Regions from separate parts of the Homo sapiens genome. Here regions 2, 3 and 4 are each linked to region 1. Evidence: promoter capture Hi-C in human tissues and cell types (Jung and others, 2019). All regions are on one chromosome and are shown on one strand. Each heading gives the region's core, a stretch centred on a gene start or on the middle of the fragment in contact. The rest is flanking DNA. Distances are from core to core; before and after follow the strand shown.

The links. Contacts are between HindIII fragments. The study calls those that stand out against the background at their distance.
Region 2: the fragment with the promoter of DPH7 here is called in contact with the fragment with the promoter of DPP7 in region 1 in 1 of the 25 tissues and cell types used here (lymphoblastoid cells).
Region 3: a contact is called between the fragment with the promoter of AGPAT2 here and the fragment with the promoter of DPP7 in region 1, in 2 of the 25 tissues and cell types used here (heart left ventricle and mesenchymal stem cells).
Region 4: a fragment that was not itself captured here is called in contact with the fragment with the promoter of DPP7 in region 1 in 1 of the 25 tissues and cell types used here (dorsolateral prefrontal cortex).

What each region holds. Positions count from the first base shown.
Region 1 is chr9:137,111,586-137,119,117 of GRCh38, forward strand. DPP7 (dipeptidyl peptidase 7) reads right to left here and starts at 3,148. Exons shown (of 13, transcript NM_013379.3): 1 at 3,062-3,148; 2 at 2,878-2,991; 3 at 2,658-2,797; 4 at 2,280-2,443; 5 at 1,776-1,911; 6 at 1,621-1,702; 7 at 1,368-1,534; 8 at 1,160-1,220; 9 at 527-645; 10 at 288-444; 11 at 105-169. The coding sequence starts at 3,128. LOC124902314 (a long non-coding RNA gene) reads left to right here and starts at 3,214. Exons shown (of 2, transcript XR_007061874.1): 1 at 3,214-5,459; 2 at 5,586-6,193. RefSeq lists silencers at 2,844-2,993, 3,024-3,373. The HindIII fragment of the contact is 20,655 bases long and covers 1-7,532 here.
Region 2 is chr9:137,574,981-137,582,512 of GRCh38, forward strand. It overlaps DPH7 (diphthamide biosynthesis 7), which reads right to left and starts at 3,945. Exons shown (of 9, transcript NM_138778.5): 1 at 3,645-3,945; 2 at 2,490-2,623; 3 at 1,100-1,187. The coding sequence starts at 3,797. ZMYND19 (zinc finger MYND-type containing 19) reads right to left here. Exons shown (of 6, transcript NM_138462.3): 6 at 7,101-7,532. RefSeq lists enhancers at 457-751, 681-1,490, 4,225-5,196, 4,291-4,350 and a silencer at 3,631-4,040. The HindIII fragment of the contact is 7,311 bases long and covers 1-6,406 here.
Region 3 is chr9:136,683,980-136,691,511 of GRCh38, forward strand. It overlaps AGPAT2 (1-acylglycerol-3-phosphate O-acyltransferase 2), which reads right to left and starts at 3,478. Exons shown (of 6, transcript NM_006412.4): 1 at 3,197-3,478. The coding sequence starts at 3,378. RefSeq lists an enhancer at 2,083-2,944 and silencers at 2,665-3,234, 3,455-3,654, 4,125-4,204. The HindIII fragment of the contact is 28,065 bases long and covers 1-7,532 here.
Region 4 is chr9:137,413,687-137,421,218 of GRCh38, forward strand. All of the region lies in intron 1 of EXD3 (exonuclease 3'-5' domain containing 3), which reads right to left. It also overlaps the pseudogene LOC124902354. Among named protein-coding and RNA genes, the nearest start is that of EXD3, 5.7 kb to the right of the region's middle. RefSeq lists an enhancer at 3,699-4,525 and a silencer at 4,011-4,280. The HindIII fragment of the contact is 3,396 bases long and covers 3,308-6,703 here.

The DNA.
Region 1 (7,532 bases), core at 1,898-4,397:
CCTGATCTCGCCACTGTATTCCAGCCTGGGCGCCAGAGAAAGACCCTGTCTCAAAAAAAAAACAAACAAACTAACGGGGTCATAGGGCCCAGGCCAGGACTCACCCCGCCCCCTGCCCAGGGGTCCAGGTTCCCGTTGGAGAAGATGATGTTGCTGGCGGCTCTGAGATCTGCAAGGGGCAGAGAAAGTTGTGATGTGGGCCCCTCACGGGGGCTGTGAGCCATGGGCAGGGGGTGCAGAGCTCGGGGCAGAAAGCAGGACGCTGGCCCACCCCCCCTCAGCCTTACCACCCCCCCAGAAGCTGGTCAGCAGCCAGTCGGGCCGGGGCCACACGCCCCAGGTGTCCAGGCAGTACCGCTGGCGGAGCTCGTCAGTGAAGGGCAGGTCCGGGAACATATCGGTCACATTGTTGCTGGCGAAGGTCAGGTTGATCTCGGTGCAGGCCTGCAGGTGCCCCAGCCTGAGTCAGGCCAGCCCACGCCCACCCTTGCCCCCGAGTGGTTCCAGGCCACCCACACCCCCACACCTGGTAGTCCCAGGCCCTGGCGTCGGGGCCGGTGCCGCAGCCAGTGGGGTCAGCACAGCTGTGGTAGAGCCGGTAGATGTCGTAGCAGTGCTCGGAGCCCGAGGCGTTGTAGACCAGCCCTGGGGAGGAGAGGCGCTGGGGCCCAGCGGCCACACACAGACACACCGCGGGCTCCGGCCACCAACCTGTCCCCCCTCGGAATGGTCCTGCAGGGGATCTGGGGCTCTGGGATCTGTAGGTCCCAGTGAGGAAGGCCCTCCAGGCTACCTGCTTGGAGGTCGGCGGTGTCTGTGCTGCCAGCCCCGGGCCTGACTGTTGAGGGCCCCCCCGCTCTCCACGGGGCAGGGTGGGGCCTGCTGCCCTCTGTTGCCCTCCATGCTGGGGACCCCAGGGGCCCCTTGGGCAGCACCCACCAAGCTGGGCCTGGCTACAGCCAGTGCTGAGAGGGTCCCCAGGGACGGCCCCTGCCTCCCCCAGGGTTTCTGGGAAGGTCGTGCTGTCCACCCCACCACAGCCCTGGGGCAGGAGGCAAAGCCCCTGGCCGGGCTGCGGATCCTCGCCCCACCCGGCCCCAGGACCCAAGCCAAGCCTGGGGTCTCCACACTTGCCCATCTGGGGCCGGGGGAAGGGCACCTGCCAGTGCTCGCAGCCCCGTGATCCTCTGGGCCTCACTCAGCAGCCGATCACAGCCCACCTGGAGTGCAGGGGCAGCGGCGACTCAGCGGGGTCCCCTCCACCAGCTCCGCCTCCCTGGCTCCCAGGATGAGGGTCAGGCCGCTGACCACCAGCCTCGGGACACTCCAGCCGGCCTCTCCCTGCGCCCTGGGAGGCGGCGCCTCACCTTGACGGGGTTGGCAGGGAGGGGACCCAGGAAGTCAGTGGGGTAGGGGTAGTCCATCATGGCCAGCACGGTGAAGGCATTCCGGGCGAACATGAAGAGCTGGGTCAGGTCCTTCTCGTCTGACAGCGGCTGGCAGGTGCCGAACTCCCAGCGGACCGTGTCGTAGGCTGCGTGGAAGGGGCAGAGACTTGAAGTTTGGGCATAGCTGGCGCTGGGGCGGGTCAGGCAGTGGGAGGCGGTGGGAGGACCTCACCTCCCTGTAGGAACAAGTCCTTGATCTGTCGGAACGCTTCCCGCACACCCTGGGTGCATTTGGGACTCTGGCCCTCAAAGTCCTGGGGGAAAGAGACCGTGCTGACTGCAGCTGCTGTCCCTTAGGGGGCCTGGAGGACCCCAAGCCTCACTCACCGCCGTGACGTCCCGGAAGAACTGGTTGGAGTCGCCGAGGCCTGCCACAGCTAGAACGGGCGCGCTGGCCGCCAGCGCCCCCGCCACCAGGTGGGGATACTTCATCCTCAGGTAGGCACTGAGCATCCCCCCATAACTGGGTGAGGGACACAGGGTTAGGGCTGCTGCCCCCAACACCCCATTTCCTCTTTTCCTCCTCAGGGGCCCACAGGTGCCACAAGGAGGACGACACTTCTGAGACCCACAAATTCCAACCCTGGGCCAGGTGCGGGTGCAGCTCTCACTGGGAAAGGCCGCTAGTGTGGCCGCACATCCAAGCTGAGCAGGTGGCTGGGAGGACAGGTGGGAGGGCTTCCTGGGGGAGGCAACACTAAGCCTGGAACCACTGCCTGAGGCCTTACGAAAAGGCAGCGGTGGGAGTCAGAGGGGAGTGGGGAGAAGGGCTGGGGGCGCTGGGTCGGGGCAGGGGAGGGAGGGGGTGCGGAGGCCGGGGGAGGCGCCCACCTTCCACCGAAGGCGATGGCGGGGGCATCCTGGGCCCCGAGGTCGCGTCGTAGCGCGCGGAGCAGCTCTGCGAAGTCGGCCAGGGCCTGCTCCACCGTCAGCAGCTCCGTGTGCCCGCGCTGCGTGGACTGCGCACCGAACGGCAGCGACTTCCCGTAGTAGCGCTGGGGGAACGTGCCATTGAGCCCGGCCCCGCGACCCCGCCCGGCACCCGCGTGCCCCGCGACCCCCGCCCGCGACCCCGCCCGGCACCCGCGTGCCCCGCGACCCCCGCCCGCGACCCCGCCCGGCACCCGCGTGCCCCGCGACCCCCGCCCGCGACCCCGCCCGGCACCCACGTGCCCCGCGACCCCGCCCGCGACCCCGCCCGGCACCCACGTGCTCCGCGAAGACCAGTAGAGCCCCCCGCTCGGCCGCCAGCTCCGCGACGAAGGCCGAGTTGTTGGCGAAGGCCCACACGTCGCCCTCGTTCCCAGTGTAGAAGAAGATGGGCCCCTCGCCCCGGACCCAGAACCTGTCTGTGGGGAGGGCGGATGAGGCGAGGGTGCCGGGGGGCGGCGGGACGGCGGGGGCGGCCGGGCCGGGGCCGGGGTCTCACCCGACACCAGGAAGCGCTGAGGGAAGGTCTTGTTGCCGAAGCGCTCGAAGTTGAAGTGGTCCAGACGCTGCTGGAAGAAGCGCTCCTGGAAGCCGGGGTCCGGGGCCCTGCGGGCTGTGGGGGGACGCGAACCTCAGAGGCGGGGCCGGGACCGGGGAATGGGCCGGGGGGCGCCGCCACTCACCCCCCGCCTGGAGGCCGCGCAGCCCGAGCGCCAGCAGCAGGACCGGGGCCCAGGGAGCGGAGCCCATGTCGCCTTCCGCGGGCGCCCGTCACGTGGGCGGGGTCACGGGGCCGCCAGGGCGCGCTCCTCCCTCCAGGCCCCACGTGTTTCGGGCGCCCGCGGTCCCCACGGAGACCGTCGCTGCTTCAGCGCCGCGCCGGGGCTGTGCCCCCCAACACCCCGCGCCCCGCGGCCGCTGCCCAGGGGTCCTTCCCGGGCACGGCGCGGGGAAGCAGAGGGCCCCCGGGCCATCTCCGCGGCCTCCCGCCCCACTGGCTCGTCCTCCTACCGCGGCCCCATCCGGAGCTGCGCTAGGGCGAGTCCCTGCTGCGCCCGCCAAGCCTCCCCAGCACTTGCTCCTGGCAGGTGCCCCACTCCAAGGCAGGGCCGGGAGAGTGGGGGCCGTTCTGCTGCCCTAAGGGCGGGAGGGAGAGGGTCCCAAACAGAGTGCTGGCCCCCCGAAGAAAGCAACCCAGGGTTTGTCCAAGCGATAACGGGCTGGGCTTGGCGGGGCGGGGCCTCGCAGCGGGCAGGAGTGTGGGGTGCCCCTGGAGCGTCTGGGCAGGGCCGGGATGTGGCCGGGTAGCTCCCAAGAGCTGGGAATCGCCACCTGCCCTTCCGACTGGCACCCAGTGTGCCCACACAGCCCTGCAGGGACAAGGGGGGACCAGAGGCCTCTGCTGGGAGCTGGGGCCTCCTCCCTGGGGAGCACCCAGAGGATGGAAGAAGTCACCTTTCCCCAGCGTCCAGTTCAGGGAGTGGGTGAGGGGGCCGTAGTGGTGGGTGCCAGACTAGCTACGTGGAGTCCTGCTGGGGATGTACATGGGCCGCTAGCCAGGCCCAGAACAGGTGCAGGGGCAGCAGGGGCTCAGCTACAGAGAGTTACCCTGTCCTTCTCCCAAGACTACCCTCGGCCAGCATGACCCTGCCCTGCCCATCCTGTGTGGGGCTGAGCGGAGAAGACCGGCCACTTCCACAGCCCCTCACGCCATGGCCCTCCCGTGCCTCACACAGAGGCACCCCCCATGGTGGGTGACTGGTGGCTGGGGCCCTCAGCATGGTGGCAGTGACCATCACGTCACACTGCAACACGAGGTCATCCAGGGCCACACACCGTCCCCACCACGGCCCTCACATCTGGGCCCTGTCCCATCCCTACGCAGTTCCTGGGGCTGCCTGCCGGGGCCCCCGCAGGACGGGGGTGAGGACAAACAGCAGACCTCCTTGGATGTGGAGGTACCCCACGGCGTCCCCCACCCCACACCTCTGCTCCTTTGGCTCCCTCGGGTGCCTTAGGTGGCCAGAACTCCACCAGCAACCCTCACCCAGGACCGCAGCTCTGGAGACGCCAGCTAGGCCGAGAGCTGGCCAGCTCCCCAAGCACACCAGAGCCTGGAGACGCTCCAGGCTTGGCTGGGCCCACAGAGGGGCCAGAGCCTCAGGGAGGGCTCCAGGAGCAGGGTTTCCAAGGAAGCCACTTTCCCTCTTGTCCACGGCCCAGGCATTGATGCCCCTCTGGGCAGCAGCCAGGGCCTCCCAAGCCGGGAAGGGTGGGCATGGGGCTACCCAGCATGGCTCTGCCAGGGGTGAGGGTGGCCACAGTCCCCTGCCCACATCCCTGTGCCCACAGAAACATATGCTGTATGGAATCAAGGTTTAAGGCATCTAGGCCTGTGCTGGTAACCTGTAACCTTAGCCCCATCCCTGTGCCCACAGAAACATGTGCTGTATTGACTCAAGGTTTAGGGGATTTAGGGCTGTGCAGGATGTGCTTTGTTAACAATGTGTTTGCAGGCAGTATGCTTGGTAAAAGTCATCGCCATCCTCCATTCTCCATTAACCAGGGACACAGTGCACTGCGGAAAGCCGCAGGGACCTCTGCCCAAGAAAGCCTGGGTATTGTCCAGGTTTCCCCCCAGTGAGACGGCCTGAGATATGGCCTCGTGGGAAGGGAAAGACCTGATCGTCCCCCAGCCCGACACCCATAAAGGGTCTGTGCTGAGGAGGATTAGTGAAAGAGGGAGGCCTCTTTGCAGTTGAGATAAGAGGAAGGCTTCTGTCTCCGACATGCCCCTGGGAACGGAATGTCTCCGTGTAAAACCCGATCGTACATTAGTTCTATTCTGAGACAGGAGAAAACCGCCCTGTGGCTGGAGGCGAGATATGCTGGCGGCAATGCTGCTCTGTTACTCTGCTACACTGAGATGTTTGGGTGGAGAGAAGCATGAATCTGGCCTACGTGCACATCCGGGCACAGCACCTTCCCTTCAAGCTATTTGTGACACAGATGCCTTTGCTCACATTTTCTTGCTGACCTCTGCTCTGCTGCCGCATTCCTCATGCAAAGATAGTGAAAATGGTAATGAATAAATACTGAGGGAACTCAGAGACCGGGGCCGGTGCGGGTCCTCCGTATACTGAGCGCCGTCTCCTGGGCCCACTGCCTTCTCTATACTTTGTCTCTGTGTCTTATTTCTTTTCTCAGTCTCTCATCCCACCTGACGAGAAACACCCACAGGTGTGGAGGGGCTGGCCACCCCTTCACTGGCACAGCAACCTGACATGTGAAGGGGCCCAACTTCTGCAGGAGGACCCCAGGTCTGCATCGCCAGGGCCCTCGTCAGCCTGTGCAGGGCACAGTAGGTCACCCAAGGGGCAAGTGAGCCTAGGCTGCCCATGCCTGTGCAGACACCCCCGATCTCTCTCTGCCCATCCCCGGAGCAGCACAGACGGGCAGGTTGGCTGCAGAGCCACCAGCTGAGGGGGTGAGAGGTCCCTGGGCAGGGAATCCTGGGAGCCTGGCCAGCAAGGGTGAGAGGCTGCTGAGCCCAAACCCTCCCCTCGAGGTCCATCTGCCCTCTCCAGACCATCTAGGCAGCTCCTCCACACCCCGATTCCTGCTGGGACACCCAGTCCCACCCTCTATGGCTCACAGACTGGGGGCCATGCCCGGCCACACATCACGTCTGTGCTGTCCCTCAGACTGAAAGGCTATCGGCGGGCGGCTGGCCGTGACCTACTGCATCCGCACTTGGGGCCGTGCTGGTCTGTGTGCTGAATTATACATAATATAAAATTGACCACTTAACCACTTCCGCGTGTGAAATTTGGTGGCATTAGGTACATTCCTGCCTTCACAACGCTGTGCACCGTCATCACTATTTTCCACTATCTCATCACCCCCAGTAGAAACTGTAGCCATTAAACAATGGACCCCAGCCCCTGGCACTCACCATTCTACCATCTGTCTCTGTGGCTCTGCTGACTCCAGGTACGTCATATCAGTGGAATCCTACAGCATTTTGTCCTTTTTTTTTTTCGAGACAGAGTCTCACTCTGTTGTCCAGGCTGGAGTGAAGTGACACGATCTCGGCTTACTGCAACTTCCGCCTCCTGGGTCCAGGCCATTCTCCTGTCTCAGCCTCCGGAGTAGCTGAGATTACAGGCACCCACCACCACGCCTGGCTAAATTTTGCATTTTTAGTAGAGACAGGTTTTCAGCATGTTGGCCAGGCTGGTCTTGAACTCCTGACCTCAGATGATCTGTCAGCCTCAGCCTCCCAAAGCGCTGGGATTACAGGCGTGAGCCACCACACCCGGCCTGTTTTAGCCATTGTGAATATTGATGCGATGAACATGGCTGTGAAATGCCTGCTTTTTTTTTTTTTTTTTTTTTTTTTGAGACAGTCTCGCTCTGTTGCCCAAGCTGGAGTGCAATGGCGCAATCTCAGCTCACTGCAAGCTCCACCTCCCGGGTTCAAGCAATTCTCCTGCCTCAGCCTCCTGAGTAGCTGGGATTACAGGCGCACATCCACATGCCTGGCTAATTTTTGTATTTTTAGTAGACACGGGGTTTCACTGTGTTAGTCAGGATTGTGGGTGGCAAGCCACTCAGGTGCCAAGGCAAGAGACCGAGGACATGAGCTGTTCCAGTATAATAAAATATAAAACAAGAATAGTTATACCAGATATAGATCTTAGATATGATTATATATGAATATAATTAATCATTAGTAGTACTTATTCTTTATTCCAATATTATAATAATCCTCACTCTACAATCATAACCTAGGAAAAACCAGGCCATACAGAGATAGGAGCTGAGGGGACATAGTGAGGAGTGACCAGAAGACAAGAGTGCGAGCCTTCTGTTATGCCAGGACAGGGCCACCAGAGGGCTCCTTGGTGTAGCGGTGATGCCAGCATCTGGGAAGACACCTGTTGCCAAGCAGACCATGGTCTAGCAGTAGCGTCAGTGTCAAGGGAAAACACCTGCTACTTAGCAGACAGGGAAAGGGAGTTTCCCTTTCCCCTGGGGAGTTTAGAGAAGACTCTGCTCCTCCACCTCTTGTGGAGGGCCTGACATCAGTCAGACCCGCCCGCAGTTATCCGGAGGCCTAACCGTCTCCCTGTGATGCTGTGCTTCAGTGGT
Region 2 (7,532 bases), core at 2,695-5,194, 460 kb after region 1:
ACCTCCACCTAACACTGAAACCCCTGCTAGGGGCCCCGAGAAGACCTGGGGACACTGGAGCTCACACTCCTCACACTTGCAGGACAACTTTCCCACAGGCTTGATCTTGGGGCATGGTCTCCCTCCCTTTCACACCCCCTTGCCATCCTTGCGCTCCTAGATGCTGTCGAGATGCCTGTGCAGGCTCCAGACCACAGTGGCACACACAGTTTCCCACCCCAGGCCTCCAGGGCCACTGGAACACTCGCCTCCCGAGACAGAGACAATGGGGAAACTCCTCTGGTTTCCACTTCAGAAGCCGCGAGCAGCCATGAGAACGTGGTTGCTCTTTATGCAGATCTATATAAATTTCATTTCCTAAACAGCCTGGCCAGTGCTTAACTCCATCCCTGCTCCCAGCAGGCTGCTGTACCAAAGCCCTTTCCTGGGTTCATGCACTCCTCCCTTGGGCCCACAGCTTTCCTGTGGCTGCTCTTTCCCTCCTTTCTAAGACAGGGCAACTGCTCTAAGCTGCCTTAAGCAAGGCCTTTTCCTACACAGGCCCTCGGTTGGCCCAGCCCCGCCTGCAGCATCTGCATCGGAGTGAGGGCGTGGTTTCAGGCTGTTTACATCACCCCACTACGGGACATCCCCGTTCTCCTCCCCGACAGCTATCAGATGAAGTCACTTTGTTAATGCATGGCTCCAGAGCACTGTGAGAAACTCGGAAAAATTCACACAGGACTCACGTGCTTTTCCAATAATCAGTGAGAAATGCCATCTTCACACAGGATGCTCACTGCTACTCTGGGCCCCAGCATCAACCTAAGAATGCTTGCCCAGGCTCTCCTTAGAGAACTTTCAGATCCACTGACAGGTCAATGAACATCCTGTCACTTCAGCCCTTCTGCTGGTGACACATGAGGTGACTTCCTCTTGGAGTTGGATGTAGAACGCAATACAACTTAAAAATAGACTCCACATTATCTTAGAACGTTTATATATAGCTCACCATTGAAGAGAGATCGTTTTAGAAAAATGTCTGTATCAGCACAGCCTCCTCCCCAACCCTCTCTATTCAGGTCCCTTCTGCCCCACAGAACAAGTGCAAGTCACTGACCTCAGATTCCACCAGGCGGAGCAGTTGTATGGATCCACTGGCATCTGCCAAGCCCAAGAGGGCATGTCCAGCCACCGGGATGTGACACCTGAGGAGAGGGCCCACCATAAGCACACCAATGTGCCCGGAGCACAGGCGTGCACTGTGCGTCCCGGTAACCACAGTCACGCTTCCCTTAACAACGGGGCTGCAGTCCACGCAAACCCAGCTGGGACATCCTACTACACACCTTGATTATATGGTATGGCCCACTGCTCCTATGCCACAAACCTTACAGCATGTTACTGCAGGCAAGTGTGACACAACAGGAAGTGGTTGTATATCTAAACATAGAAAAGATACAGTAAGAATACAATATAAAGGATAAAAAACAGGTGGCCGGGCATGGTGGCTCACACTTGTAACCCCAACACTTTGGGAAGCTGAGGTAGGAGGATGACTTGAGGTAAGGAGTTCGAAACCAGCCTGAGCAACATAGCAAGACCCTGTTTCTACAAACTAACAAACAAACAAAAATGAGGTGTGGTAAGGCCAGGCGTCGTGGCTCACGCCTGTAATCCCAGCACGTTGGGAGGCTGAGGCGGGTGGATCACGAGGTCAGGAGATCAAGACCATCCTAATAACATGGTGAAACCACGTCTCTACTAAAAATACAAAAAAATAAGCCGGGTGTGGTGGCGGGCGCCTGTAGACCGAGCTCTTAGGGAGGCTGACGCAGGAGAATGGCGTGAACTCAGGAGGCGGAGCTTGCAGTGAGCCGAGACCGCGCCACTGCACTCTAGCCCGGGCGACAGAGCGAGACTCCGTCTCAAAAAAAAAAAAAAGAGGCATGGTGGCATCTACCTGAAGTCTGAAGTCTCAGCTACTCGAGAGGCTGAGACAGAGAATTGCTTGAGCCCAGGAGTTCAAGGCTGCAGTGAGCTATGATCACGTGACTGCATTCCAGCCTGGGCAACGGAACAAAACCCTGCCTCAAAAAAAAAAAAATTAAAAAGGATAAAAACTGGTACACCTGTATAGGGCATCTCCATTACGTTAAGGCACCACCATGGTATACGTGCTCCATTGTTGACCAAAACATAATTATGCCACACACCACTGCATTTAAATCTCAGCTCCAAAAGTGGGCTAGAGCCTACAACTGTGTTCTCAAACAAAAGACGCCCCAGGTTATGAAGTCAGAAAACTCCCATCACTTCCCCGGCTGGAACATGACAAAGGAAATAAGCCCCAGGTAAAGCACTCCCCAGGTGGAAGATAGGCGGGACAGCAAAGAAACAAATCCAAAGTTGAGATGCAATGCCTGTCTTGTTGAAGGCATCAGGCATCAGGCTTCCCTGATTGCTACTCATGACAAATTCTACACCCAGTGGGATTATCACAGTTATACCATTTCATGTCCAGGATTGCAGAAGTATCTTTTCTTTGGACCTCGACCAGAGGGTGAATAGAGTTGTTGTCATTGAAACTGTACAGGAAGAGACGGCCTAAACGGACCTGAGGCTCCTTAACTTCCATTCCACCCTACAAAAAATGCAGAGGTAGTCTCTGATTATCCCAAGACACGAAGGAACCCAAAGGATGGGAAAAGGGATCCAAGGAACTCAAAGGTTTGCCATGACTAAAGGAGTGGAATTCTGCCTGGAAGGAGAACCTCTGGTTTTCTGAGCTGGAGAAACGTCTATTAATGAGTAGGTGAACACTCCTGGACCCAGTAGAGAAGGCTCCTTCTAAACCGGCCAACAGGGACCAGCTATGGCTAGGGTAACCACAGAACCCAGTTTGCCTGGGACAGTCCTGACTTACGCCTGTTGTTCCAGTGCCCAATTTGGATCCTAATATGTACCCACCAGAAGTTAAGATATAATTCCCACTTTCTCTTTACTGTACATTCCACCCATTCCCTTGGGCCACACCTGTATATAGAAGACGTTCTGCTCTCAAGATTTTAAAGTTGGCCGGGGGCGGTGGCTCGTGCCTGTGGTGCCAGCTACTCAGGGGGTTGAGGCGGGAGGATGCCCTGAGCCCTGGAGTCCGAGGCTGCACTCCAGCCTGGGTGACAGTGCAAGACCTTGTCTCAGAAAAAAGTAATTTCTTTTTTTTGAGATGTAGTCTTGCTGTATCGCCCAGGCTGGAATGCAGTGGTGCGATCTCGGCTCACTGCAAGCTCTGCCTCCCGGGTTCACGCCATTCTCCTGCCTCAGCCTCCCGAGTGGCTGGGACTACAGGCGCCGCCACCACGCCCGGCTAATTGTTTTGTATTTTTTTAGTAGAGACGGGGTTTCACCATGTTAGCCAGGATGGTCTCGATCTCCTGACCTCGTGATCCGTCCGCCTCGGCCTCCCAAAGTGCTGGGATTACAGGCGTGAGCCACTGCGCCCGGCCGAGAACAATTTTTTTAAAAAGATTCTAAACTGTTTCCAGCCTACCTCCTGGCCAAAGGGCCAATATCCCCTCTTCATCTCCTGGGCGATTCGGTGCGCCTTTCGGCCTCAACCTCGTGGCCGGCCCCGCCCTCCCCTCCCGAAGCCGCGGCGCGCGCACCTTGTTCTGGGGGCCGGCAGGCCGGTCCTCCGGCCGCCGCAGCTGGTAGGTCCCGCACGCCAGCAGGTGCCTGCAGCCTTGCAGCGGGCACCACTCCACCGAGTCCGCGGTCAGCTCGGTGTCCACCGTTTGCAGGGCGAAACAGCCCATCATCCAGCCCTCGGGGAAGGGCGCGGAGCCGGCAGTAGAGGCGGGTCGGCGGGGCCGGGCTGGGTACTGCGCGGGGCGGCGAGGCCGGGGCCGGCCGGACGAGCGCAGAGCCCCAGGGACACCGTCAGCGCGGGCCGCCTCTCTCGCGACTCCTTCCGGGGTGCCGGGGCGGGACATCCGGCAGGGCCTTGGCCTCCGTGGACGCCCCTGGGAAGCCAGGCTCCCACGCCCCCTGTCGGCCGGCTGACCGCGGCGGGCTTCAGGCGTCAGACGCGCTGCTCCCTGCGGGGCCGTAGAGACCGAAGGCTTCGGGAAATCCGCTCCTCCACAAAGCAGGTTTGGAGACGGCAAGTTAGTGACAGAGCCGTAGGTTTGAAGCCGCCTCTGCAAAATTTCTATCACTGAGAAAAACCCCAACAGCGAGCTGCGGTAGCGCACCCCGTGGCGCCCTCCCGGTTACTCCTGGCCATCGGGCCGCGCTGACTTAACATTTAGGCTGCAGTTTCCATGACAGGCCTTGCCCCGGAATCAACGCCTTCGTAAAGCTGATGAGGAGCCCGCGCCCCACTAAGCCCAGCACCCCGAGGCCGCAGGCGCGCTCTGCCTGCCTCCTGTGAACCCGCCATGGCGGAGCTGCCCCTCAGAGACCGCCTTCCAGGGTCTTTGCTTGTCTGACACCCGTGGCTGCATCAGGACCCCCCAGAAGCGGCTCAGCAGGTGGACGGCTCCGACCCCTATGATTATCAGCACCAGTCGCCTGGCCGCCGCCCCCCTCCCCCAAAACTGCCTTTGAAAAAACCCCTAACCTAGGAGCTTTGGACAAGATGATCTGAGGACGAACTCCATCTCACATGTGGCCTGGCCGGCCCGTGTCTATTAATTTTTTTGTTTTTTTTTTTTGAGACGGAGTCTTGCTCTGTCACCCAGGCTGGAGTGCAGTGGCGCGATCTCAGTTCACTGCAAGCTCCGCCTCCCGGGTTTAAGCCATTCTCCTGCCTCAGCCTCCCCAGTAGCTGGGACTACAGGCGCGCATCACCACGCCCAGCTAATTTTTTGTATTTTTAGTAGAGACGGGGTTTCACCGTGTTAGCCAGGATGGTCTCGATCTTCTGACCTCGTGATCCACCCGCCTCGGCCTCCCAAAGTGCTGGGGTTACAGGTGTGAGCCACTGCGCCCGGCCCTAAACTTTTTTTCTTTATTGCAATCCACGGTCTGAATGTGTGCAGCGGGCAGGAAGAACCCCTTGGGCCGTTACAGGTTGAACTGTGCCCCCCAAAAAACAATGGACTGAAGACCCCAGCACCTCAGAGAGCATCCTTAACAAACAGGGGCTCTCAGAAGCAGCAGGCGTGGGCCCTGACCCAGAGGAGCAGGAGTCCGCAGAAGAGAAAGCTGATGCAGAAGACTTGCAGGGCCATTGCTGTGCAGAGCACAGGGAGGCAGGCAAGGCACCTGGCAGGGAGGAGGCGTCCGCACCTGAGGGCCCTTGCCTGCGCCTTCATCTGAGACTCCGGCCTCCAGAGCCTAGACTGTGAATTCCCGCTGCTTCAGGCTGCACAGCTCGCGCTGCTTTGTTGCGGCAGCTCCAGGAAGCTAAGGCGGACTTGACTGAAATATACGGGTGCCTGGGTATTCAGCCTCAGGGCTTCAAGCAGGGCTGTGGCTAAAGACATGGCAGAGAGCCAACAGCTCAGACCACCACAGAGACAGAGGCGCAGAAAAGGCTGGCCAGGAAGGCAGCAGGGCATTCCAAAAGGGCCTCAACCACACACCTCTGCGGGGGAGGGAGAGTGACCAGGTGCGCATCCCAACACACCACACTCCAAACAAGCTTTAGAAGCAGCCCCACATTGCAGCCATCTGGATGTCCTCACAGGACGTCTTAGATACCTGGCTACGAAGACCAAGAAGTCGGGGCCACGGAACGGGAAAGATGACCAGAGGATTGGGTATCAGGTGAGAGGGAAGCAGTGGTGGGGCCCGTCCCACCCTCACGGTGCCACCTGCTGGGGTGAGGCCTGGAGGAGCTGCCACATGCAAACCTAGAACCTGCACCGCCCCCTTCCCCAGCGTGGTGTCTCACAGGTGGGAGGCCCTGGGCGCTTCTTTCAGTGCACTTTTCTGATGAATGACTGCCAAACAAAGCAGCCCTGCTGGTCAGGGGCAACATGGCCACACCCCTGGATGCAGGTAAAGGGGACCCCTGCACTCCGTGCTCATCCTCAGACTCTATCTGAAAGCAGGCTGCCTGAGGGCACTCGGGGCTCCAGGCCTGAAGACTGCCCCAAACCCCAACCTGCTGACCCGCCATCTCTAGGGACACATATGTCCCCCTCCCTGGCAGCTTTCACCTACTCAGCAAAAAATGTCCCCAACCTTTGCAGCAGCTAAGGGGGCTTCTCAGGGCCTGATGTGGGCACATGCAGTTCTCTAAGCTCCAGGAAATCCTGCGGAGTTTGTTGATATCACCCATTTTCAGCAGTCCTGTTCTTCAGGAGCCCCCAGGGTACTGCCAGAAAAGGTACTGGAAGTTTTGCTTACAGACAAAAGCCAGCCCAGCCAGGGGCAGCAATGAGAACACACAGGGTGTCCTGGAACATGGCAGTGGAGCTTCAAGAAGGGAAAGTGTAGCAGCAACCTGTGGGACCAACACAGGGTCGGACCGGACCAGACCAGACAGGTCAGAGTCGGACTGGCCAGGCTTCCAGCTCCCAAGAAGCAAGGCCTCTGGCTGGGCGCACCTGGAGACAGGCAGGATCCCAGCCACACAGCCTGGCATGTTTCCCTGGGGCAGCTCTATGGGTACAAGATGCTGACCAGCCCCAGACACCTGGGGCTCCCCAAGGAGAGGGAGGGCTATCCTGGAAACCACAGCCCTGCAGACGGACGGAGAAGTGAGACCCTCACCTCACCCTGGCTGGCCAGCCCCCTCCACCATCTGCAGCAGGCCTGCTGAACATGCCCTGTGGATTCTTCTGGGCAGAAGCTCACTGCTGAGCTCCCAGCCACTTCATGCATAAATCAGGCAAGAACTAACCAATGTCAGGGGCGAGAGCATCCTACTCCCCATAAAACAGCGGGCAGCTGACTTAGCAACCCCACCACTCCTGCCGCAAGACAAGGACAGAGTCTCACTCATACTCCCTGCTGGACTCAGGAAGGTCTGAGCTCACCCGCTCCTCAGAAGGGCCCACCAGGAACAAGGGTCCTCCTGCCTCACCCACAAGGACTCGGCTCCACTCAAAATGACCTCACCCTAAGCAGCACAAGAGGGAGGCGGAGCAGAGAATGTCCGAGAGGCCAGATGATTCCACCCCTTTACTTTGCCTTTGTGGACACAACTCCCGTGCAGGCCGCGCTCCACGGGGCTCCCGGCGGCCCAGGGGAGAAGCTTCGACAACAGGACAGTTTTTAGTCACGTGGCCTGACCGTTTGCCATTTAAGGATTACAGCAAATGATTCTATTTGTAATTTCTACCCTTCCCATTGCCTCCCCCCCAAAAAAAACTGTACATGAGTTTACAAACATATTAACATATAAATAATGAGAACCGTCCTGGTGGGAGCCTCCTCCGTTGTCTCTGCTGGAGATGAACACTGAGGGGCGCTGTAACCACACAGACTGCCTGTGACATCGGGAGTCTCACGGCAGCTGTCCTGGGCCCGCAGCTGGCTTTTTTGGCACCTCCAGGTTCAACCACCAGTCTGTCTCTGCTGTGCCCAGGGTAGAGCCCGGG
Region 3 (7,532 bases), core at 2,228-4,727, 430 kb before region 1:
GCTCCATGGGGACAGGAGCCTGCCCTGCAGCCAGGAGCTGCCACAACCACTAGGTCCCGGCCTCCAGATACCAGCAGAGCGTGGGGTTCAATTCGGGGAGCATCCTTAAGAGGAAGAGCACCCCTTTTCTGTCTGGGACCCTGAAAATGGTGGGAATAGAGGTCAAAGGAGCCGGAAACTAACTGCTGTTTCCCTAGGCTGCCCATCTGGTCTCCTTTGCTGTATGAAAAAGTAAACTTCTCTGTGGATTAAGCTGCTGTCTTGAGGGTTTTCTGATCCTGTAGCTGAACCCAGCTGTAGGACACGGAGCCGCTCTGGGCTTTGCTTTCCTCTGTCGAATGGATGTACCAGGGCATCGGCCCCTGGTGAGGAAACGTCCCCTGCAGCTCCACCGTAACTGCGCACACAGGGAAGGGCTCAGGGGACACCCCCTGCCTGGAAGGGGTCCGTGGTCTCAGCCCCAAGCCCGGTGGGAACGAAGGCTGCCTCAGAGGTTCTAGTCCCATCACTGTCCCTCACACGCTCAGAACTACGGTGTAGACGGTGGGGGTCTCTTGGGTGCCGCCTGGAACCCCGTGGGGAGGGGCTGGGCCTCAGCCAGGGCAGCCATTGCTCAGGGGCAAGATGGAGCGCCCCTCCCAGAGCTCAGGCCTGCCGCAGGGCTGCCTCACCAGCCCCAAGCGCTGGGCTGGGAACAAGGGGAAAGGGAAAAGCAGGTACTCTGGAGTCACTGTCAGTGGGTTCGAACCCCAGTTCCACCCCATCCTGGCTTGGGGACCCTGCCCCAGTTTCAAGTTGCTTATCTCAGCCTCAGTGTCCTTATTTGTAACACAGAGCACACGCGAATCCCTGTTCCTGAGGCTGGAGGCACCCGTGGCGTACAGCAGGAACAGAGGCCGAGTATCCCCTCCTTCCCTTCCAGCCCCCCGGGTCCCTTCCCTGGAGTGACAAAGCGCCTGCTCTTCATCTGCCTTTCTCACCCCTCCCGACGGCCCCCACGGAGGGAACGCACGTTCGCAACAGCCCCACTCTTAGCCATTGCTGGGAGTCTTGGAAGTCATCAGGGACCCTGGGGCCTGGGGAGCACGTGCAGAGGTGTGGGGGAAGGTAGCCATGGAGCCCCAGGCCTCTCCTCCAGACTGCCCTGCCCTCTGGCCCTCCCTTCTCTTCAGGGACCAAAGCAGGAACAAAGCACCTGCTGTTAGTAGCCAGTGTCCCGGAAGCCACTACTCCACAGGCCTGAGCCTGGGTGCTGCCCTGGAGAGGTGAGGGCGGCAGGAGGGTCCCATCCAAGCACCATCAGAGGCCCCAGGTCCCGAGGACACCCAGGTTAGCCAGAATCTCCAAGCTGAGATGGGGACAGGGCCCAGTGGGGCAGCAGGGCCAGTGCCAGCCAACCCAGCCTGCCAGGTCCATAGAAAGGGCAGCAGGTGAACTGTGATTTGGTCCCTGGAAAACAGCTAGGAAGTCCAGGCAGAGGCCCCTGCAGAACAAGCCAGGCTTTCTCACACGAGGAGGCCGCCGATGAAGAGGCCCGTGGCCTGTGGCCTGGCTCAGTAGTGGGGTCTGCTCCAGGGTCTCCTAAGTCAGGTGCCCCATCATTTCTGCCAAAAGAACAGGACCCCGTCCCCTGTCCACACCCCAGGACACGCCCAGCACAGGATGCCCTGCAGGCATCAGAACCACACAAGCCATTTCCTCGGGGTGGGGGGCACCCCAAGGAACCCACAGACTGGCCCCTCCTCAGCTGGGAAAGCCGCACCCTCGCCCCTACTCTGAAGCACCCCAGGGGCTGAGGGGGGCCCCTCACAGAGACCCCTGCCTACAGGGGATCCCAGGGCCAGAACCACAGGTGAGGCCTTCACAGATTCCAGCACAGGTGCCCAGAGCCCAGCCCCCAGGAACTCCCTGTTTCTGCAAACTGCCTTCCTCGCTGAAGGGTGCTCCACTGGGGACGTCAGCGCCAGTCACCACCTGGGCCAGCCCTGGAGTGTGCGCTCCCCGGGACCCCGGCCTGGGCCACCTGGCCCACATCACCACTGGTCACACACGTCTGGCTGAGCAGCCAGCAGGCCCTTCTCGGACTCTCCATGCTCACCATCAGGCCCAGGGTCCTCCTTCATATTCCTGGAGCTTCTGGGGCTCCGTTGGAAGCCATGACTGTAGGCCCGTTCCAGCAGCCTCAGTGCCCTCCCAGGGCTGGCAAGGACAGCGAGTGCAGGGAGCTAGCAAACCCTCACCCACTGCCCCTGGAACCACGGGGAAGGGGGCCTCTGGGGCCACAATGCCCCCACCCCAGGCCATTGCAAAAGCCACTGGCTGGGCAGTCCAAACAGGGCAGGGAGAAATGTAGCAACAGCCTGGGGACGGCTAACAGGGAGAGGGGGCAGGCAAGAGCCTTCTCCAGCAGCCACCCCGCCCAGGAGCAGGCAGCCCCCGCCGTCTTTGGCAGCCCAGTCTGACCTCTGGCCCCCAACCCCAGCCTGGCAAAACCAAGCTCCCACCTTCTGGAAGGCGTCCAGGGGAAAATTTCAGCCCCGCCGAACCCTAGTCCTAACTCTTCCTTCCCTTCGCTTGGAAGCTGGGCCCCCGGAGCTGTAGGCCAGGGGCGCGCTCCCCAGCACGGAAGCAGGTCCCCTCCGGGTCCCCCACCTCCCTGCGAAGAGGAAAGGGAGAGAAAGGGGAACCCGCCCCACAGGTGCGCCCATCACCGGGCGGACAGTCAGGAGGGGGTCGGAGGGAGGCCGAGGGGTGCCCCCACGCCGTCGTGCGCCCTGATCAATAGCCCTGGGGCAAGTCCCCGCCGCCCCGGCCTCGGTTTCCCCGCTCAGGAAGCAGGGCTGAGCCTCTCCCAGCGCGGACCGGCCCCCTTTCTCTCCGAAAGCTGCTCCACCCCCGGAACCCCACGCCGGGCTGCAGGGACGCGGCGGAGGCCGAAACCGGTGTAGACGCCCGGGGCCAGGGCGGGGGGTGGGGTGCTGGGCACTGTGACGCCGGCTCCTTGACCCCGTGACTCCGGGACCCCCTGACTCCGGGACCCCCTCCTGTGCCTGCCGCCGGCCCAGGCGCGCTCTCCCCGGAGCCCCGGAGCGGGGCGGGACGGGCGGGGCAGGAAGGAGGGAAGCCCAGAAGAAAGTTAGGGAAGCGGAAGCGGCGCGGCGGTTCCCCGGCCCCTCCCGGCGGCCCCCGGCCTTGCCTCATGTTCTCCACCGTCCGGCCGCCGTGGCGCAGCAGGCAGACGAGCGAGGCCACGGCGGACACCGTGAAGCACAGCGCGCAGTACAGGGCGACCTTGGCGTAGAACTCGGCCGCGCGGCTCAGCTGCACCAGCAGCAGCAGCAACAGCAGCGCCGCGGCCAGACACGGCCACAGCTCCATGGCCCGGCCCGGCGCCCGACGGCGCCGCCAGCTCGCTCCCGCTCCCGCTCCCGCTTCTCCCCCGCGCGCTCAGGCCCCTTATTGCGAGGGCGGCGGGGCTGGGCGGGGCGGGGCGCGGCGTGGGGGAGGAGCGCGCGGCAGGGAAGGGCTAGGTGCGGCGCCCCGCCCCGACACTGTCCCCAACAACGCCCCGACACGGTCCCCTCACCAGGCCCCGCCCCGCCACTGTCCCCAACCCCGCCCCGACACGGCCCCCCCTTCCCGCCCTGGGTCACCCGGCCCGGACCTCCCCTCCACGCTCCCTCCCCACAGCCTTCTGCCAGGTTACCGAGGCTCTGGCGCTCTGCTCCCACCCTCCCGGTCCCAGGGGACCCCCCCATCATGGCTTGCCGGTGGCTCGGGCTCTGGCGCTGCCCCCCATGGTCTGGGCCTCCTGCCCCGCCCGGTGCCCCCTCCCCCCGCTGCCGGGGCAGCCACAGGCTCCCGCGCGCAGAACCACAGCTCCCCAAGGGCGTAAAACCAGCGGGGATGCGCCCGTGCCAGGCCGGTGGCCACGCAAAGGGCCGCCGGAACCGCCCCCGAGTGACCAGTGGCCACCTGGCAGAAAGCCTGGCTCTTAGGGTGTTCTCGGTCCCCTGCGGGGAGACTCGTGGGGGCGCGCAGGCCAACTGGGGCGTGTGTCTGGGCGGGGCTGGGTTGCCCCACCCTGGGTGCCAGAAGTAGCCTTGTCACCAGGGACGCTCCGGGGGCAGGCGAGGTGGGTGTCAGGTGGCGGCGTTCACATCCGCTTGGCAGCACGGCCAGCGTGGCAGGGCAAGGTGCAGCTGGGACAAGGGCAGCAGTCACCTGGCCCGGCCCCCACCCGGCGTCCCACCTCAGGGAGCAGATGGAGATTGAAAAGCAGTTTCCTGGGGTCCCTCCTCATAGGGACTCTTGGGTTTGCTGCAGTTGCGGGAGTGCTGGCCGCCCTGCGCTCTAACGGGTCAGCAGGGGAGCACGGCCCCTCTTTTTTCAGATGCAGAGTTGAGCTGTTAAAACATTTCCCTGAACATTGTAACCACCCCCCAAACTGTACTGAGAGAATGACAAATACAGAAACTGCTCTTCAAATGAATGGGGAACTGCGGTCCTGAAGGACGTGGGGTCTCGCTGCCTGGGCTCAGCAGCCCCTGCCCAGGCGGTCCCAGCTTTTCTTGAAAGTGGAGACACATCCTTTTGCCTTAGGCCTGTAGGCATCTTACAGCGAAACCCAGGAGAGCATTTTCCAGCCCAGTCTCCTTCCAGATCCATATGGGCTTCATCTGGAATCAGCTTGGAGGGCCTGGCTTGACCTCTTTCCACGCTTGGAGCCGGAACTGCACACCCCGCAGCCGGGAGGTCTGAGAGCTGCACTGCTGTGCCTCTGAGAGGCTGAGAGGTGGCTGCTGACGGCTGCGGGGTTTTCATCTTCCAGGGCAGATGAGGTGGGTGCACCCTGCAGACAGGAGTGCCGCTGCCGGGAGCTGGGGGATGCGGGGGTGTGGGCTGGGGTCCCAGGTGGACTTCCTGGAGGAGTGGGGCTTCACAGCACCTTCAGCTGGAGGCTCTGTGCACCCAGGTCCCGAGCAGGTTGTACCCTGGCTGTGGAATCCAGTCCTCACAACCATCAGGCCTGTCCAGGGGCTTTACATGCCAGCCCCCTTCTTGTCCTTTACCTCCCAGCCCACCGACCTTTCCAGGGTGGCCACCATCTTCCTGCACCCCTAGGTGACTGTGTGTGTGTTGGACACCTCTCCCTCCTCTCCTCCCCCCGGAATGGAGCCCGTGGGGCCTCATCTGTTTTGTGCACCATGTGCGACCAGCACTCAGGCCAATGTCTGGCACATAGCAGGTGCTCAGCACACACTTTCCATAGTAGCAAAGGCATCCCCATTTTACAGAGGGAAAACTGAGGCTCTCAAGGGTGAACACCAGACAGCCGGGACGTGACAGAGGAAAAGAGGCTGACTCTGAGCCGGAAGACTCCTGCCAGGGCTGGCAGGAACAGTGCCAGGGCAGCACACGGTGACCCTGTTGCCTCCCCAGACAAGGTGGGGTTTTGCCCACTGCTCTCCTGAAGAGGGTGAGACCTAATTTCACCTCCTCCCTCTTCTCTGCACCTTGCAGAAGTGTTGAGAGAAACGTCCACTTTTCCTCCGACAAGATCCAAGAGGAGGCGGGCCAGGGACTTGGGGAGTGATGAGGAAGTACTGTGTATTTTAATATAATGCCACATTTGGGAAGCTAACACATTATTTGTTTCTAGAAGTAAAGCTCCAGAGAATCTTATGGGCTGGCAGAGATGCCAAGAAAAGAGATTTTCTTCTTCTTTTTTTTTTTTTGAGACGGAGTCTCGCTCTGTCACCCAGGCTGGAGTGCAGTGGCGTGATCTCGGCTCACTGCAAGCTCTGCCCCCTGGGTTCAAGAGATTCTCCTACCTCAACCTCTTGAGTAGCTGGGATTACAGGCGCCCGACACCACACCCGGCTAATTTTTGTATTTTTAATAGAGACAGGGTTTTGTCATGTTGGCCAGGCTGGTCTCAAACTCTTGACCTCAAGTGATCTGCCCGCTTCGGCCTCCCGAAGTGCTGGGATTACAGATGTGAGCCACCGCGCCCAGCCTAGAAAAGAGATTTTCTCTAAAATGAGTGCTTCTCACCCAGGGAGGGCTGGCATGGGCTCTGCTGGGTTTATCCCAAGAGTGTGGTGAGGGACTGGGAGCCTGGTTCTGTTGTGTAGGGATGGCCAGCGCCCTGTCTGACCCTTGAGATGCCCTCAGCTACCAGGGGCAGGGAGTGCTGGGCCGGTGGTGGCCGTGCGGCTGTACCCACCCAAGGACAGCTGAGAGTCCTCCTGGGCATTTGCTGGGACCCGGCCAGACAGCGCATGACACCAGGTGACAGTGAGAGCTGAGTTGGCACCGGCTGCTGAGGCCCGGGGAGCCCACACAGCTCAGGGAGCGAGTGAGGACGGAAGGACCAGCCAAGCCTCTCCAATTCCAGGAAGCAGAGATGAAGCCAGTGCTGTGTGGCCCAGGAAGGACTGGCAGGGGCAGGGCAGCCGGGCTTTGAAGACCAGTCCATCTGGCTTTAAACCTAAACCCTGAGTTAGCCAAGGCACCAGAGCCTCGGTTTCCTCATCTGTAAAGTGGAGACGTGACGCTCGCCGTGCCCAGTGTGTGACAGGAGGCAGCTGCCGGGCTGGCGGGGCACATGGGCCTGACTAGGCCTCTCCCCAAAGACCTGCCCCGGAGAGACACCAGGACAAGAGCCAGGGAAGGGGAGAGCTTCTCGGCAGCTGGAGACACGGGGACGTGTGGCCAGGGGGCAGCCACGGCACAGCTGGGCCTCGGGCTGGACCCTTCAGGGGCTCCTTCCTTCCAGGGAGGACATCAAAGCCTGGCTTGGGGGCTGGACGGGGAGGCCAGGCTATGCCGGGACCTCAGCCTGCACAGAGTGGCTGAGGTCCAAGCCGGGCATGCCTGGGGCTCTCGGGCAGAGCGTACCCTGGCCGACGGGTTGTCCGGCCTCCTGGTGGGTGTGCTGGGCGCAATGCCATTCCCACCACCTGTAAATAAAGCAGCCTGTGAATCTTTCATGGGTTTGTGCTTAAAAATAGATGAGGTGAGCCCTCTGGGCTGGCTGCCCAGACCTCTGCAGCAGGCGGGGCGGTCCACACTCTCCCTAGGGAGTCAGGGAGGGCGGGTGAGGGCTCCAAGGGGCGCTGGCCAGGGCACGTGGGACCTTGGGACATATGGCCCCAGATGTAGGAGCCAACAGGAGGTCACGCCTTTGGATGTCCCATCCGGAGCTCTTAGGTCACAGGCTGGGGTGGGAGTGAGGGGCAGAGCACACCCCACAGGGTCCTTCTCCTGCCAGGATGATGTCTGGGCTGGGAGACAGAGGACAGAGGTGGATGGAGAGGACAGGGGCGGGGAGGCATCAGGAGACAGAAGGGAGGAGACGGCCCAGGGAGGAGGGGCCCACACTGCAGTAGCCCTTCCCTGCCCAGAGCAGCTGTGCCCTATGCACGGCCTCTCGCACCCAGCACACCTGTGTCTAAGTGGAGCCTCTGAGGAGCAGGGAGCCCGGGCAAGTCGGGCTCCGTGGCAGGAAGTACCAGAGCAGACGCAGA
Region 4 (7,532 bases), core at 3,756-6,255, 300 kb after region 1:
AGACGGGGTGTTGCCATGTTTGGCCAGGCTGGTCTTGAACTCCTGACCTCACGTGATCCACTTGCCTCAGCCCAGAACATTTTCATTGCCCCAAAGACAACCAACCATGTGCCCATCAACAATTACTCCCTCTGCCCCTCCTCAGCCCCTGGCCATTTTGTGTCTCTGTGAATCTTTCTATTTTGGGCATTTCCTATAAAGGAGACCACACAGGTTCTGTTGTTTTTTTTTTCTTTTTTTTTTTTTTTGAGACGGAGTCTCACTCTGTTGCTCAGGCTGGAGTGCAGTGGTGCCATCTCGGCTCACTGCAAGCTCTGCCTCCCGGGTTTACGCCATTCTCCTGCCTCAGCCTCCCGAGTAGCTGGGACTACAGGCGTCCGCCACCACGCCCGGCTAATTTTTGTATTTTTAGTAGAGACGGGGTTTCACTGTGTGTTAGCCAGGATGGTCTCGATCTCCTGACCTCGTGATCCACCTCCCTTGGCCTCCCAAAGTGCTGGGATTACAGGCGTGAGCCACCGCGCCCGGCCAAGGTTCTGTTCTCTTGTGGCTGACTGACCTCACTTGGCATGGTGTCTTCAAAACTCATCCCTGCAGCAGCATGTGCTGGAACTGCCTTTCCGTGGCTGAGTCCTGCCCCACTGTGTGCACAGACCACGGGCTGTTTGTCCAGCAGACATTCGGGCCGCACCCCCTTGTCTGGCTGTTATAAACAGTGCTGCTGTGAACAGCTGTGTGCATGTTTCTGTGTGGAGTGTGTTTTCACTGATCTGGGGACACACATTCCTAGGACTGGAGCTGCTGAGTCTCGGTGTTTCTATGTTTAGCTTTTTGAGGAACTACCAGACTGTTTCCACAGTGGACGTGCCATTTTACGCTAGCATCGATAACACACGAGGGTTCTGATTTCTCCACAGCCTCACCAACGCCTGTTGCGGTCTGTCTTTCGTTTTTTTAAACTTACCAATTTAACTTAAGGATTGTTCCTTTCCTTAACAATTAACATGACCAATTTTAAACACAAAAAGTAACTTTCCAGGGATATTGCACAGGAGATGGAGAAGGAGGCCAGCAGGTGTGACAGGTGTGGGGTCCCACACCGCCACTCCAGGGGGGTGCTGGCATGTTTGGCCCCCGTGGGCTCCACGTAGGTCGCAGGGTTTCTTTGTATGTTTGTTTTTATGTTTTTGAGATGGAGTCTCGCTCTGTTGTCCAGGCTGAGACGGAATCTCACTTTGTCGCCCAAGCTGGAGTGCAGGGGGGCGATCTCGGCTCACTGCAAGCTTTGCCTCCAGGGTTCAAGTGATTCTCCTGCCTCAGCCTCCCGAGTAGCTGGGATTACAGGTGCCTGCCACCACGCCCAGCTAATTTTTGTATTTTTAGTAGAGACGCGGTTTCATCATGTTGGCCAGGATGGTCTTGAACTCCTGACCACAAGCAATCCGCCCACCTCGGCCTCTCAAAATGCTGGGATTACAGGCGTGAGCCACTGCGCTGGGCCTGTCACAGGTTTGTTTTTTTTTTTTCTGTTTTTTGAGATGGAGTCTTGCTCTGTTGCCCAGGCTGGAGTGCAGTGGGGCGATCTCAGCTGACTGCAACCTCCGCCTCCCGGGTTCAAACCGTTTTCCTGCCTCAGCCTCCTGAGTGGCTGGGATTACAGGCATGCACAGCTAATTTTTGTAATTTTAGTAGAGACAGGGTCTCTCCATGTTCGCCAGGCTGGTCTCGAATTCCTGACCTCAGGTGATCAGCCTGCCTCGGTCTCCTAAAGTGCTGGGATTACAGGCAGGAGCCACTGCTCCTGCCCAGGCTGCGGTTTTGAAGGACACCTTCCCTGTTCACCGTGTTGGTTTTAGCTCTGCGGCAAGCTTCTCTGTGCACCCCACCTCCCTGCAGCTCACTGCCCACAACACATGGATGTACCATGGGACAGCTGCAAGGACGGGTCAGGTGGCCCATGGGCTCTGGGGAACCCTTTCTGGGAGGTGCCAACAGCACATGTTGGGGTCACCATCACAGACGGGGCTGGGGCCAACAGTCCCCCATCAAGGGTGGGCTTTCCCAAGGACCCCAGTTCTGATCACACAAGGTAGAATCTGATGAATGATAAACAGCATTTAAAAACCATGTTTTATAAAAATACTTAATGGCATGGGAAAGGGTTCACAGAGCAGCATAAAGTCGCGTTGCCCTAAGGGGATCACGCTGCACGGTGCAAGGTCCCTTCTCAAAACCAGGCAGATGCACGTGTGAGGGCCTGGCTGCTCTGCCGACGGTGCCTCTGTGCTTTCTGTTTTGTATTTTCTGAATACTACACAATGTATACACCCTGGTTTGTATTCATGAACAAAGAAAAAACCATGAATGATATTTTTGAAGGTTAAAACTAGGATGGGATCTTAGCCTTAGCACCTCCACACCTCACCCATGGTGACAGGGCCTCTGCCTGCCGCCGGCCACTGCCAGCCACACCTGGGACCCACAGCCAGGGCTTTCGCTCTTCTGCAGTGCCTGAGGGCCAAGAATTCTGCGGTGGCTGGCTGGGTGGCCGCTCCACCAGGGGGAGGGCACTGCACGTCTCAGTCCTCAGCAGCCCGAGGTTCCCAGAGTGAGGGACCCACAGGGACAAAGGGGCGGACTTGGGGCCCTCACGACCTATCTCCATGTCACACAGCCTCTGCCACCTTCCCATCAGGCCGGGCACCCCCAGGTCCAGCTCACACTCCACCGCAGCTTCTGCACAGCCAGGGAGGGACCGCCGGCAGCCCACCGCCTCACCTCCCAGGTCTCCACCAGAAACATCCGGCCGGCCCAGCTGACCCCCGGGCAGGCGCCCGGAACCTCGCTGGTCCCCGGGCAGGCATCCGGACCCTCGTCAGCCCGGCTGCTGCTTCCCAAAGGTCCTCTCCACCCAGGACCCTAACACGTGCTGGGCAACCCGGCTCAGAGCATCATCCTGCGCCACGCCAGGCGGCCACCCTCTGAGGAGGATGGGGACGGGACACATCCAGGTCACACCGAGGTGGCACCAGGCGGTTCCAGGACCTGGTTCCCCGTGACACAAGGATCAACACCAAGGGTCGGTAGGCCGTCCCGCAGCCTAGCCTGGGGCTGTCGCGAGCTCGCAGGGGTGCTCTTGGAGGCGCCCCGGGCAGGAGCCGCTCCCACCTGGAGCAGAAGGGAGCAGGCCCTCCCTGAGCTGGGCTCGGGACTGATGACGGTGCGGCCGTCAGGAGGCCAGGAAGCCCCGACACCTCCCCGTTTCCCGACAGACGCGGCCAGAACACGCCCAACTCCACGGGAGGGTCTGACCAAGGGGACCCCACCTTAGGATCTCCTCGGCCTCCCTGTGGGCCTCAGAACAGGCGGAGGCGGCAACGGCAGGAGAGGGCGACCCTCGTGACGACCGAGCTCCCGGGCAAAGCCGGGGCCGCGTTGCGGGGTTTCATCCCCGAGGGAGGGGCGCCCACCAGACGCCGGGGGAGAAGTCAGGTGGGCGGTGGGAGACACACGGGTCTGGACTCGCACAGAGGACGCGGCCACGGACTCACGCGGGCGCCGCAGGGACGGGGATGGCCAGTTTCCCACGGCTTGTCGTGAAAATGGGAAAGGCGGCGGGTGGTGAGCACAGCACACCCCGGCAGCGCCCAGGCTGCCAGGAAGCGAGCGCGCCCGCAGAGGCGCCAGACGGGTCCACGGGTGAGGCCGAACCTGACCACGGGTTCCGCGGCGCGGAGGCCCCTGCTGACCGCATCTGCACGGAGCCAACGGCGCGAGGGGCGGGAGGCGGCGTGGCCACACCCCACAGCCCACCCGTTCCTCGGAAAGTCGAACACAGCGACCACGGGCTCTGGCAGTTCCTCTCCCGGGCAGAGACCACGGGGACCAGCAACGCGCGTCCGCACAAACTACCCCAGCCGCGCTGCGCGTGGCGGCCGCAGAGGAGGAACGGCCGAGCGGAGGAGGAGGCGCGCGGCCACCACGCGGCGGAGCAGCTTCCGCCACGAACGGAACAGGAGGTCGGCGCAGGCGACATCACCGACACCACGTGTGCGCCCCGGGCACACCGGCCACTGCGCTGGGCCCTTCCCGCCTCCTTCAAGCGCAGGCCGTGCCGCGGGCCGGTCCTGCCCAGGGCGCCTGCGGGGGAGGCCGGGCCGTCAGGCGGGGAGGAAAGGACAGAGCCTGAGGATCTGAGGAGCCCGTGGGTGAGGGGCTGGCGGGGCCGGAGGGGGTGAGCTGCAAGGACTGGGGTGGGACCACGGAGGGGACGGGTGAGCCTCGGGGACGCACGGTCACTGGGAGGCCGAGGACCCCCGGGGCTGGCAGGAGGTCTGTGCCCTGGGTGATGCCACTTCTCCTATTAATCTCCTTTTGTGGCCGGGCGCAGTGGCTCACACCTGTAATCCCAGCACTTTGGGAGGCCGAGGCGGGCGGATCACCTGAGGTCAGGAGTTCCAGACCAGCCTGGCCAACATGGTGAAACCCCATCTCTACTAAAAATACAAAAATTAGCCAGGCGTGGTGGCATGCACCTGTAGTCCCAGCTAACTCAGGAGGCTGAGGCAGGAGAATCGCTTGAACCCGGGAAGCAGAGGTTGCAGTGAGAGCCGAGACTGCGCCACTGCACTCCAGCCTGGGCGACAAGAGCGAGACTCTGTCTCAAAAAACAAACAACAAACAAACAAACGTCTGAGTCATTTCTAAGTAAAACACTGAAACATTAATTACTAAGCGTAAGTTTAAGCTTATATACTTTAGTATCTTATTTTTATATGGCATAGGAAAGCTAAATATATTTACATCTGTTAACAAAAAAATTTAGGAGATGCATCTCTGTAAAACATGATGAAATGGTTTCCATCTACACATACAGTTCAAAATTACTCGCTGAGTTTTTAACGGAAAATTAGGGTCACGAAGTTAACACTGTAATTAATATATGTAACTGAAACTACTAAATATAAGAGAAACAATTCTGTACGTGAGATGTATAAGAAAAGCAGAGTTTGTTTTTCTTTTGAACAACATTTCGTGTAGTAATAAGAGATTGTAAAATATTTTTATCTTCTGAGTAAACAGAAAAAAAAAAAGGGGAAAGAGGGAGAGACATTCTGTTTGCCTCACGCTGTCTTTAGTAGGTCTATTGATTGCTTGGGAAACTAAGTCTCCTCTCTGTCATAGTAAAGGTTTTTGGTTTGGGAAATCTCTGAATTACCAATTTGATTAAATGAATGGCTTATTTTACAGTGACCTGTGGTCCTATTTTGAGATTGTTTTAAGCCTCTGATATTTGACTTCCCAAAACCAAATTTCAAGTCCTAACATTAAGGGTTTTTTTCACCTGAACTAACTTGGATATAACAAATAGGAACCCCGAGAAGTCCAAGGGAGATGTACGAGGCTTATGTGGTATGTTAAAATCATACAGGAAGCATTGTCAAATGTGGAATGCTGTTGGAGTTATATTGGTATAAATGTATTATTAACATATGTTCCAAAATTGTATGAGATTCCTAAAAATTCTGACATGTCTTGGTATATGTTATCAGTCGTGATTACGATTATATGTTAAACTGTTTTAACCTCAGAAGTAACCAAATTCCCTGCCAATCGCGTCTTCACCCATGGCTACTCTAAGTCTTTTGTCATCTGCAGAAAATTACTGTTTTACTTTGATTCTTCTCAAAATGCAGTTTAAGGCCGGGCACGGTGGCTCATGCCTGTAATCCCAACACTTCGGGAGGCTGAGGCGGGTGGATCACTTGAGGTCAGGAGTTCGAAACCAGCCAGGCCAATGTGGTAAAACCCCGTTTCTACTAAAAATACAAAATTAGCTGGGCATGGTGGCTCATGCCTGTAATCCCAGTTACTTGGGAGGCTGAGACAGGAGAATCGCTTGAACCTGGGAGGCGGAGGTTGCAGTGAGCCAAGATCGCACCACTACACTCCAGCCTGGGCAACAGAGCGAGACTCCATCTCAAAATAAATAAATAAATAAAATAAAATAAGGTACAGTCCAAAATTTGCATTTTCTTCAAGGAAATTCATGGAAAGGACATTGACAAGTATACAGACTTCCGATAACCTGGGAGATCACACCAGTAGACCAGATAAAAACTTCCAGGACTCTTATTTAAAAGCTGATGCATTCATGAGGATTGTTAACCCAACATCATACAGAAAAAAGCGGCCGGGCGCGGTGGCTCATGCCTGTAATCCCAGCACTTTGGGAGGCCAAGGCGGGCGGATCACGAGGTCAGGAGATCGAGACCATCCTGGCTAATACGGTGAAACCCCATCTCTACTAAAAATACAAAAAAATTAGCCGGGCATGGTGGCAGGTGCCTGTAGTCCCAGCTACTCGGGAGGCTGAGGCTGGTGAATGGCGTGAACCCGGGAGGCGGAGCTGGCAGTGAGCCGAGATTGTACCACTGCACTCCAGCCTGGGCGACAGAGGGAGACTCCGCCTAAAAAAAAAACAAAAAAAACCCCAGCAAATTACATAGAACTGAACTGATAGAGGCCTGAAATGCTTTTTATGATTTTTTGTTGTTATCGAAACCTTGCTGACTCTTTTTATATTTTGTTTTCCAGAGTCAGAAAACCTTTTTCTTTTTGAGCTATTTATAGCTATAGCAATTGAGTGACATATACTTTTGTGAGCAAAACTGAAATATTTGTCTTTTTCTCTACCTGATTTCTCAAAAATCTGGAAGCGATTCATGAGTATTCTTATTTTATGGCAATGTAGTTCTTTGCATGAGTTCAGTAAGAATCTGTTGTCCTTGTAACAGGACACAATTGGAGACCCTGGTTATTCTACCAAGGCTTGGACTGGGATGACGTATTTTTGGATATGACGAGACTGCTTTGAGGAATCGAGGTTCGCTTTATAGAGCCAATAAAAAGCCCCTTGGGATGACTGGACTGGTGCCCTGTTTACATAGTTCCCTTAAAAGGTTCTTGGCCTTGAGGTAAGGAAAGAATGTCACTTTCCGACAGATCCAGGAACTTCAAGATAGTTTGGGACCTGGAGGACAGACATTCACCCCCCCCCCCAAATTCATACAGGTATTATACATACACTGTGATGGGGAGCCACTGGCTTGGCTTCCTAGACATGGGAAGTGTTTGTTTTGTTTAGAGACAGGGTCTCGCTCTGTCACCCAGGCTGGAGTGCAGTGGTGCGATCATAGCTCACTGCAGCCTCAATCTCCTGGACTCAAGCGATCCTCCCATTTCAGCCTCCTGAGTAGCTGGGACTACAGGTGAGCACCACTATGCCCAGGTAATTTTTAAATTTTTTGTGGAGACAGGGACCTCGCTATGTTGCCCAGGTTGGTCTCAAACTCCTGGGCTCAATGAATCCTCCCACCTTGGCCTCCCAAAGTGCTGGGATTACAGGCATGAGCCACCATGCCCAGCCCTCAAGTGGCTTTTAAAGGTCTATTCTGACCCTCTTGTAGTTCATAAGCATGATGATTGCCTCATGTGTAGGGTCTGTCTCCTTCAAACGCTGTTATGACGCC